2 separate regions of the Homo sapiens genome follow, and region 1 is linked to region 2. Evidence: promoter capture Hi-C in human tissues and cell types (Jung and others, 2019). All regions are on one chromosome and are shown on one strand. Each heading gives the region's core, a stretch centred on a gene start or on the middle of the fragment in contact. The rest is flanking DNA. Distances are from core to core; before and after follow the strand shown.

Region 1 (4,207 bases), core at 284-2,783, 440 kb before region 2:
GAACTGTTGTCAGTGTATTTTTATAACTTTATATATCCCCCCCCCTTTTTTTTTTAGAGAAAACAAAATTCTGTATTTGTGAGTTAATATACGTAAAGTATTTAAAATAGTGCTTAGTGGCCAGGCACGGTGGCTCACACCTGTAATACCAGCACTTTTGGAGGCCAAGGCAGGCGGATCACCTGAGGTCAGGAGCTCGAGACCAGCCTGGCCAACATGGCGAAACCCCGTCTCTACTAAAAATACAAAAATTAGCCAGGTATGGTGGCACACGCCTGTAATCCCAGCTACTTGGGAGGCTGAGGCAGGAGAATCACTTGAACCCGGGAGGTGGAGGTTGCAGTGGGCTGAGATTGCACCGCTGCACTTCAGCCTGGGTGACAGAGCGAGATGCCATCTCAAAAAATAAATAAATAAATAAATTAAATAGTGCTTAGCACACAGTAAGCACAACATCAGTGTTTGCTGTTTGCTGTGGGAAGCTGAGGGCAGACCCAAGTCGACCTGTGCTCTCCCCTGCCCACCTCTCTGTAGAGGGAGCCTCCTCCTTCCTCATTCTGGGGCATGTTGAAGCACATGTTTCTCCTGCCCACCAGAAGAGGGAGCCCTCAGTAAGGGCACACAGTTGGGGAGGTGGTAGAGGAGATGTGCATTGGTTCTGCCTTGGGCTTGACTTTCCTAGGTCAGGGTGTCCCAGTCTCAAGATTTTGAATTTACAATTGAACCCCTTCCCCATTAACATCTGGCCCTTGGATACTAAGGCATGGGCTGTCTAGGGTCGTCTAACATTTGTTATCTAACAAACCGACCTTGGAAGTCAGCTACCTACCTCTTCCCTCACTGTCCATATGACAAAACTCAGCACTAGAGAAGTAGGATTTGCCCAGAGAACTGCCGTGGGTCCATGGCACTGCTTCATGTAGTTATGTGGCATTCAGTAGAGTCTGTGATAGTCGGATGTGACCTTTGGTTCCCCACCTCTTGTCCTGCATCAGATTGTCTCCCAGTGGCTCAGGGACCCATGCAAACACTTGTTGGACTCACTCATTGACCCTTCTGTCTTCTCCCCTCCAGGTGACAAATGTGGATGATGAGGGGGTGGAGCTGGGCTCTGGGGTGATGGAGCTGACGCAGAGTGAGCTGGTGCTGCACCTGCATCGGCGTGAGGCCGTCCGCTGGCCTTATCTCTGCTTGCGGCGCTATGGCTACGACTCCAACCTCTTCTCCTTTGAGAGTGGCCGCCGATGTCAGACAGGCCAGGGTGAGTACCAGGCCCTGCTCCACCCTGGGATAGGGGCTTATGCAGTACTCCAGGGTTCCTAATGTATAGGTTAGCCCTCAAGAGGTTAGTGTTATCCCCATCACCTGTGGGCAGTAGAGTGTGATGTATTCTCCCTGCAGTCAGAGGTCAGGGGTGGTAGGTTATTCCATAAGGTCAAGGCTAGAGCCAGCCACAGCTCTCTGAAGAAGTGGCATGGTCTGAGTTTATCTCTTAGGATCCAGACTTAAGCTGTGCAAAAGGAATCCTGCATGGGATTGTGTTCAGTGCAGTTTGGGATTATGGCTGTGCAGAGGTGGAATGAACAAGCTTCTCTGATGAGGCTGCCAACAAAATAGTGAGCCTCCGAGGTCATGTTTGCTGGAGGAGACTTCCCTCCATGCATCTTACCTTTGGAATTCATGAGGCAGAGGCAGGGGCGCTGGGTGAGCAGGCAGAGCAGGCAGAGGCATCCTTGCTCCTAGTGATGTTTGATCTACACTTGGGTTCCCAGAGGGGCTACCCCTGGCCCCAACACGGGGTTCTCTACAACTCCAGTCTTTCCCAGTCTTTTCTACTTCTCGTCATATTTTGCCAGAGTAGTTATTTTTCTTCCCTGTTTCCTCCCCATCCTATTTGTGCAAACCATAGTTGTCCCATTCCCCAGGCTAATTGTGTCTTAGTTGTGGGTATATGCACAGGCACACCCCACGTAGCCTCCCCTAGGTCCCAGGTCCCCCTGTTACAGAGGAGTCCATGCTGGCCCAGTACCCCAAGGGCATCTTTGAGTCCCCTGATTGACAGACACTCAGCCCAGTCCTGCTGTTCCTGGGACCTTGAGTTGCAGTGTTGCAATTTGAAGGGCTGTGAGGCTGGCTGCATTGAGGAGCCTTGTGATTGCCTTGCCATGTTTGCCTTTAGCTAGTCTGCCCATGATTTCTTCCTTCCCGTGCCAGAGTTTAATCTATGAGGTTAGGGACCTATATACAGTAGGCATTTGCTTTCTGGCCACACACTGGGCTAATAAGTGAAGAAGCAGGGAACAGAGTAGACCCTCTTGTCATCAGCGATCTGAGGGCTGGTGCTCTGGATGGAGTTTTTTTTCCTAGGAAGCAGGGGGTGTTAGGCAGAGGAAGATGGGGGAAGCATGTGAGGTAGAGTGTTCGCTCACCTGGCTGGGCTCAGTGGCTCACACCTGTAATCCCAGAACTTTGGGAGGCTGAGGTGGGCGGATCACGAGGTCAGGAGATCGAGACCATCCTGGCTAACACGGTGAAACCCTGTCTCTACTAAAAATACAAAAAACTAGCTGGGCATGGTAGCGGGCACCTGTAGTCCCAGCTACTTGGGAGGCTGAGGCAGGAGAATGGCGTGAACCCGGGAGGCGGAGCTTGCAGTGAGCTGAGATCGCACCACTGCACTCCAGCCTGGGCAACAGGGTGAGACTCCGTCTCCGAAAAAATAAAAGAAGAATGTTCACTCATCTAATACTATCCTTTCCACCTTGGCTTTTGGTTTTGTTTTTTTTCTTTTCTTTTTTCTTTTTTTTTGAGACAGAGTCTCGCTCTGTCACCCAGGCTGAAGTGCAGTGGCACAATCTCGGCTCACTGCACCCTCCACCTCCGAGGTTCAAGCAATTCTCCTGCCTCAGCCTCCTGAGTAGTTGGGATTACAGGTGCTCACCACCACGCCTGGCTAATTTTTTGTATTTTTAGTAGAGACAGGGTTTCACCATGTTGGCCAGGCTGGTCTTGAACTCCTGACTTCAGGTGATCCACCCTCCTCGGCCTCCCAAAGTGCTGGGATTACAGGCGTGAGCCATCATGCCCGGCCTCCACTTTGGTTTTGATTCTCTTCTTGTGACCCCTGAACACACACATCCTTATGAAAATGATTTCGCTTCAGAGCAATATAGCTGGAGTGTTCAATGTGGTGTGGGCGTGCTGGGGCAGGGTACCTTGGACCCAGCCTTTCTAGTAGCTCTTGGATTCTAGAGCAGACCTAGAAAGAATGCTCAGGGCCAGGCGTGGTGGCTCACGCCTGTAATCCCAGCACTTTGGGAGGCCGCAGCAGGCCGATTACCTGAGGTCAGGAGTTTGAGACCAGCCTGACCAACATGGTGAAACCCCGTCTCAACTAAAAATACAAAAAATTAGCCAGGTGTAATGGCGGGCGCCTGTAATCCCAGCTACTTGGGAGGCTGAGGCAGGAGAATTGCTTGAACCTGGGAGGCAGAGGTTGCAGTGAGCTGAGATCGCACCATTGCACTCCAGCCTGGGCAACAAGAGCAAAACTCCATCTCAAAAAAGAAAAGAAAAAGAATGCTCAAGATGAGGAGAGGCTCTCCTGCCCCTACAGGCCTGGGACTGGAGTTGAGGGACATTTCCTGCACATTGTGCATCTGTTGAGCTCCTCTGGTCCTTCCCTATTGCCTAGGGTCATTTCTTCCTCTCCTTCTCCAGGAATATTTGCATTTAAGTGTTCCCGGGCTGAGGAAATCTTCAACCTCCTTCAGGATCTGATGCAGTGCAACAGCATCAATGTGATGGAAGAGCCTGTCATCATCACCCGCAATAGCCACCCCGCTGAGCTTGACCTCCCTCGAGCCCCCCAGCCACCCAATGGTGAGGAGACCCCAGTGTACACACACACACACACACACACACACACACACACGCCCAGGAAGCACAAATCTGAGGGACTAGTTAAGCTGGCTGGTTGGGAGAAGGCTGGGTGAGCCAACCTTCCAGGACAGTTGTCCATGATCAGAACCATTCTTGAGGATCGGTAAGTCCTGGGCTGGGCTAGGTGACTCAAACTGAGGTTGTTGAGTTCTGGGCCTTGTATTGACTGATGGTTGGGGAGCAGACAGGAAGACTTTGGGTTTCCGTAGAATTGGCAGTCTGGAGTTTTTTTGCTTTCTTCCTCTGTCTATTGGGTCATCCCCAT
Region 2 (4,237 bases), core at 637-3,136:
GTGTTTGTTTGAAGGGTGCATATTGGCATTTAATATGGAGAACTGCAATTTCCCTTCTAGCTTTGTACTTAGTTTTAACTGAGGAATGACAAAACGTTATGGGTATACCGTTAAGCCACTACATCAATCACCTTTAGGCACACTTTCAAATGAACAATGTATACAGTTTTTATAAATTTTTCCCTATGTGATATTTGTTCTGATTGTATTCATTAAAATGTAATTTTATGTTTGTCAAATTTAATAAATGTTGGGCTTGTACTTTATATATCTTTTTCTTATTTTTCTAGTAATTTTTTTTTACTGTATTTTACAAAAAAAATTACTCATGTGAATTGCAGATTTTTTTTTAGAAGGTCCTCTTCCACAGGAACTGTGGGTAGCTCTGCTCTGAGCAGGAGTTTGGCACACTTTCTGTAAAGGGTCAGGGATGAGCCATGTGGTCTCTGTCACAGCTGCTCAATTTTGCTGTCACAGCATGAAAAGGGCCACAGACAATAGGTAATTGAGTGGGCATGGCTGTGTTCCAAAAAATAACTCCACTTATAGGCACTGAAATTTGAATTTCCTGTATGTCACAAAATATTGTTTTTCTTTTGATTTTTTTTCACTCATTCTTAGTTTTTTTCACTCATTCTTAGTCCCCGATCTGGACTATGAGGGATACCCATAGTATCTTGGTATCTAGACTACCCAGATACCACTGGCTCTACATGGTGGGGGCAGCCAGTGGATGCACCTTTCCTGGGCACCTACTATGTACCAAAGATGCCGGGTGGTCCTGCCCTCCTGTAGCAGGGTCATATAGGCTGACTGGTCAGCATGCTCACCGGGTCTGTTTCAGCATCTCTCAGGAGGCCCAGGCTGCAGGCTTGGGAGTCATGCAGACTGTGAGATGGCTGCTCTTGTGCACATATGAGTTCCCCCTGCACCTGTTCCCAACAGCCTTCCCAGGAGACTGGGGCGTGGGCATGGGTGGCTTCCACGATTGGGAAACCAGGGGTGATGGAGGCACCAAAAGGGGGTGAGGGGCACCCCTCTGAGGACCCTAGGGAAAGAGCTCACCTGGAGATACCACCAGATAGAATCTGACGGACTTAGAGACAGAGTTGTCAGAAGGGCGGTAGATTCTACACCAGTAATGTCCTGAGTCTTCCTCTCTCAGATCAGTCATGGTGACAGTGAAGAAGCCAGCATCAGGGTCGTCCCAGATTGTGAATCGAGAGGTCCAAGCCATCGTCCTGGGCTTGGAGCTGGTGACTAACCTGATGCACACAAGTGCTGAAGCCTCCTTACACCAGCCTTTCTTCTCGTAGAGACTGCCCGTGGGCGGGTACTGGCATCTCACGGTTAGCGTCTGCCCTGCCACACTTTGAAGTACCTGAGCCTTGGATTGTGCCTGAGAGCCTGGAGAATGATGAAGTAACGCATAGGTCAAGGCCACGCGCACAACCTGCCTCACAGCAGGCCTCTGGCCACAGAGCCACCTGCTCCCTGACCCTGCTGTCCTGACAGTCCCCACCACACCCATCTCCTCTGCTCCCTGGGCTCCTCCTCCCCCTCACCTGGGAACAGCAGCAGCAGCAGTAGCAGTGGGTGTAGGGCTCGCCAGGCCATGTGGTCCTTTTCCTGTGCGCTCATGGGAGGGGACACCTGGAGAAGACTGGGGAGAGGGAATTGGGAGCTGGGCCTGATTCTGCTGCTCTTCCAGCACGTCTGATAGAAAAATGAGACAGGCTGAGGCCTGGGTTGGGGAGATGGGAGACTGCAAAGGGCAGATTCTGTGGGCACAGGGAAGTGGGGATCTCCAGCTGTAGGTGAGTCTGGGTCTGGTGGGCTCGGCGCTGTCTGGCACACAGCTTCCCAGGCCTCTGTAGAAGATGCCTGCTCTCCCCTGTGCCCAGCTGCCCCTCCCCACCATGACCTACCCCTGAGGGAGGAGCTGAAAAGGCCAGGAGGAAACTGTGGGCGAGTTATGGACTGCTTCCCCCTTGCTCCCTCTGTGTGCTGCCTCTCTTCTTTGCAGGGCCCTAGCTTTGCCGCCCTTTCCAGGGAAAGGCAGGCTGAGGGTGGATGACAAACTCAGGGGCACTTGGAACCCTGATCACAAGCCCCAAGCCTCACTGGTCACAGGATGGCCAGGGACGTCATGCCCAGGCCTCCATGGTGGGTCAGTGATGTGCTTCCACTCTGGGAGTTTCGTGGGTGCGGGAAAGGAGAGGGGAGAGGAGGTGGAGATTCAAAACCAGCAAGGGAGGCTAGGGAGGGTCCCTGGCAAAGGTCGGGGAGGGGAGGGTGGGAAGAGCACACGGAGCATGGGATGCATCAGTGGGGTGGGGTAGAGGGAGCCCAGGAACCAGGACCTGGCCTCATCTCTGCATCCTGGACCTCTGCCACTTAAGGACCCTGGAGAAATATTGTTTAATTAAAACATAAACAGATGAAAGACTCTAGCATATTTTTCTTTAGTTAATGTCAGCACTTTGAAGATTCAGTTTTAAAATACGATGCAATTTACAAAGAGAACGAGCTAATATATCTTAGGACTGGTAGAGACACTGTGTGTAATTGCAGTTGCACCACTGGGGGCTCTGCTGGACTGGCGATCTGCTGCCGGGAGCTCTGTGAACAGAGGTAATAACTGAGACGGGAATTGGAACTTGTCAAGTGGACTCGATTCCAAGTCCACTGCTTTGCCTGCCCCTGGACTCCTGCTCTCCACTCCATCTCAGTACACTGCCCTTCTCCTTACAGTAGGAGTATGCAGAGACTGAGAATGGGAAAGGCAGAGGGGTATGCAAAAGGAGGACACAGTAGGGCTATCAGATGTTGGCGCCCAAGGGCCCAAGGTGGGAAAGCAGGCTGGAGCTCCAGAGCTAGAAGACAGCTCAGGGAGCGATGCCCGCCACTCACTCACACAAGCATTATTTACAAAGCATTCTCATGCACACTTTCTCAAGACCCTCAGCAGGTTCGCGAGGGAGACATTACTTCTCTTTTTCACAGATGTGAGAACTGAGGCCCAGATATGGTCAGCCACCTGCTCAGAGTCACACAGGACCAGAACAGGCCTCCTGACTTCGGTCTGGAGCCTTCCGGCTGGTCTGGTTGAAATGCGACCCACAGACATGACAGGAAACCAGGGGTGAGAAAGAGGCTCCCACTGAATTGCACACACAGGCGGAGGTGAGCTTTTAGGGGGTTTCCTCGCCGACAGTGGGGCCCAGCTTCTCCCTGAACATAATTACATACCAAATCAGGGTGGGGGCATCCTCCCGAGGGGGAGGAAGGCGGCCCTGTCCTCAGATGGCACCGAGGCACGTCACCGTGTGTGTGTGTGTGTGTGTGTGTGTGTGTGTGTGTGTGTCAGCAACTGTGTTCCCATGCTGACTTTCCCCTTCTCTGACCCCTGCTGACTCTAAGTGACAGCTCCTTCTTGTAGCTTACAAGAGCACCCCTTGCTATGTGCCACTAGCTGTGTGTCTCTTCAGCCTGCAGCCAGCTCTGTATCGTTCTCTGCTGTGTCAGAGTGTGTCGTCTCTCCCCAGGGGACAGGAGCTCTCAAAGCGGGGAATCTGCCCCTCTCTCTGTGTTGTGGCTTCCCCACCTGTGTGAGTGGGGTGGGCACCCTCCACATAGACTTGGGGCCTTGAGCACCCTAGGGGGAGGCCCCTGCTGGAACCATCTGCACGCTCAGCTTCCTCTGGCATCTGGGACCTGGGGGCAGGGAAGCCTGGGCTTAGGCAGCCCCTCATCCAGGCTGGGACTGGCCCTGCTCCCTGGGGACCCACAACAGCCCTTGTCACAAGTTGAATTTCTGCAGGAGGGACTGGGGCAGGTAGCTGTGGTGGGATCTGGGGCCCTTTCAGAAGTCTCTTGAAGAGCTAGGGATAGTGCCTCCCCCTTGGCACGATCAGAGCAGGGCACAGCAAAGTCCTGTCAAAGAGCCTGGGGTTCTGGGGGATTCTGGGTTCCCTGCCCACCCTCTGAGAAGGTCCCTCAGAGAACTTGGGAACCTCAGCAACCTCCTCTCCCAAACTCATTGTCACACACACTCACAGGAACCCAGAGAAGGAGCTGGGAGAGCTGGAGACTTCATGTACTTGCTTTTCTAGCAAGGCCCAGTCTAGCCTGCAACAGTGGCTCCGAGCCTGGGTAGGTCCATGGGAAGGGAGGGCTGGCCTCTGATGCAGAAATGGGGAAAGCAGGGAGCCGTAGAGGTCTGGAGGTGATCCCC

What was found. Contacts are between HindIII fragments. The study calls those that stand out against the background at their distance.
Region 1: a fragment that was not itself captured here is called in contact with the fragment with the promoter of NCR2 in region 2 in 1 of the 25 tissues and cell types used here (mesenchymal stem cells).

Annotation. Positions count from the first base shown.
Region 1 is chr6:41,772,473-41,776,679 of GRCh38, reverse strand. It overlaps FRS3 (fibroblast growth factor receptor substrate 3), which reads left to right. Exons shown (of 7, transcript NM_006653.5): 4 at 1,075-1,261; 5 at 3,721-3,882. Among named protein-coding and RNA genes, the nearest start is that of FRS3, 5.3 kb to the left of the region's middle. The HindIII fragment of the contact is 6,444 bases long and covers 1-4,207 here.
Region 2 is chr6:41,333,257-41,337,493 of GRCh38, reverse strand. It overlaps NCR2 (natural cytotoxicity triggering receptor 2), which reads right to left and starts at 1,886. Exons shown (of 5, transcript NM_004828.4): 1 at 1,566-1,886; 2 at 1,066-1,407. The coding sequence starts at 1,617. RefSeq lists an enhancer at 3,139-3,268. The HindIII fragment of the contact is 17,500 bases long and covers 1-4,237 here.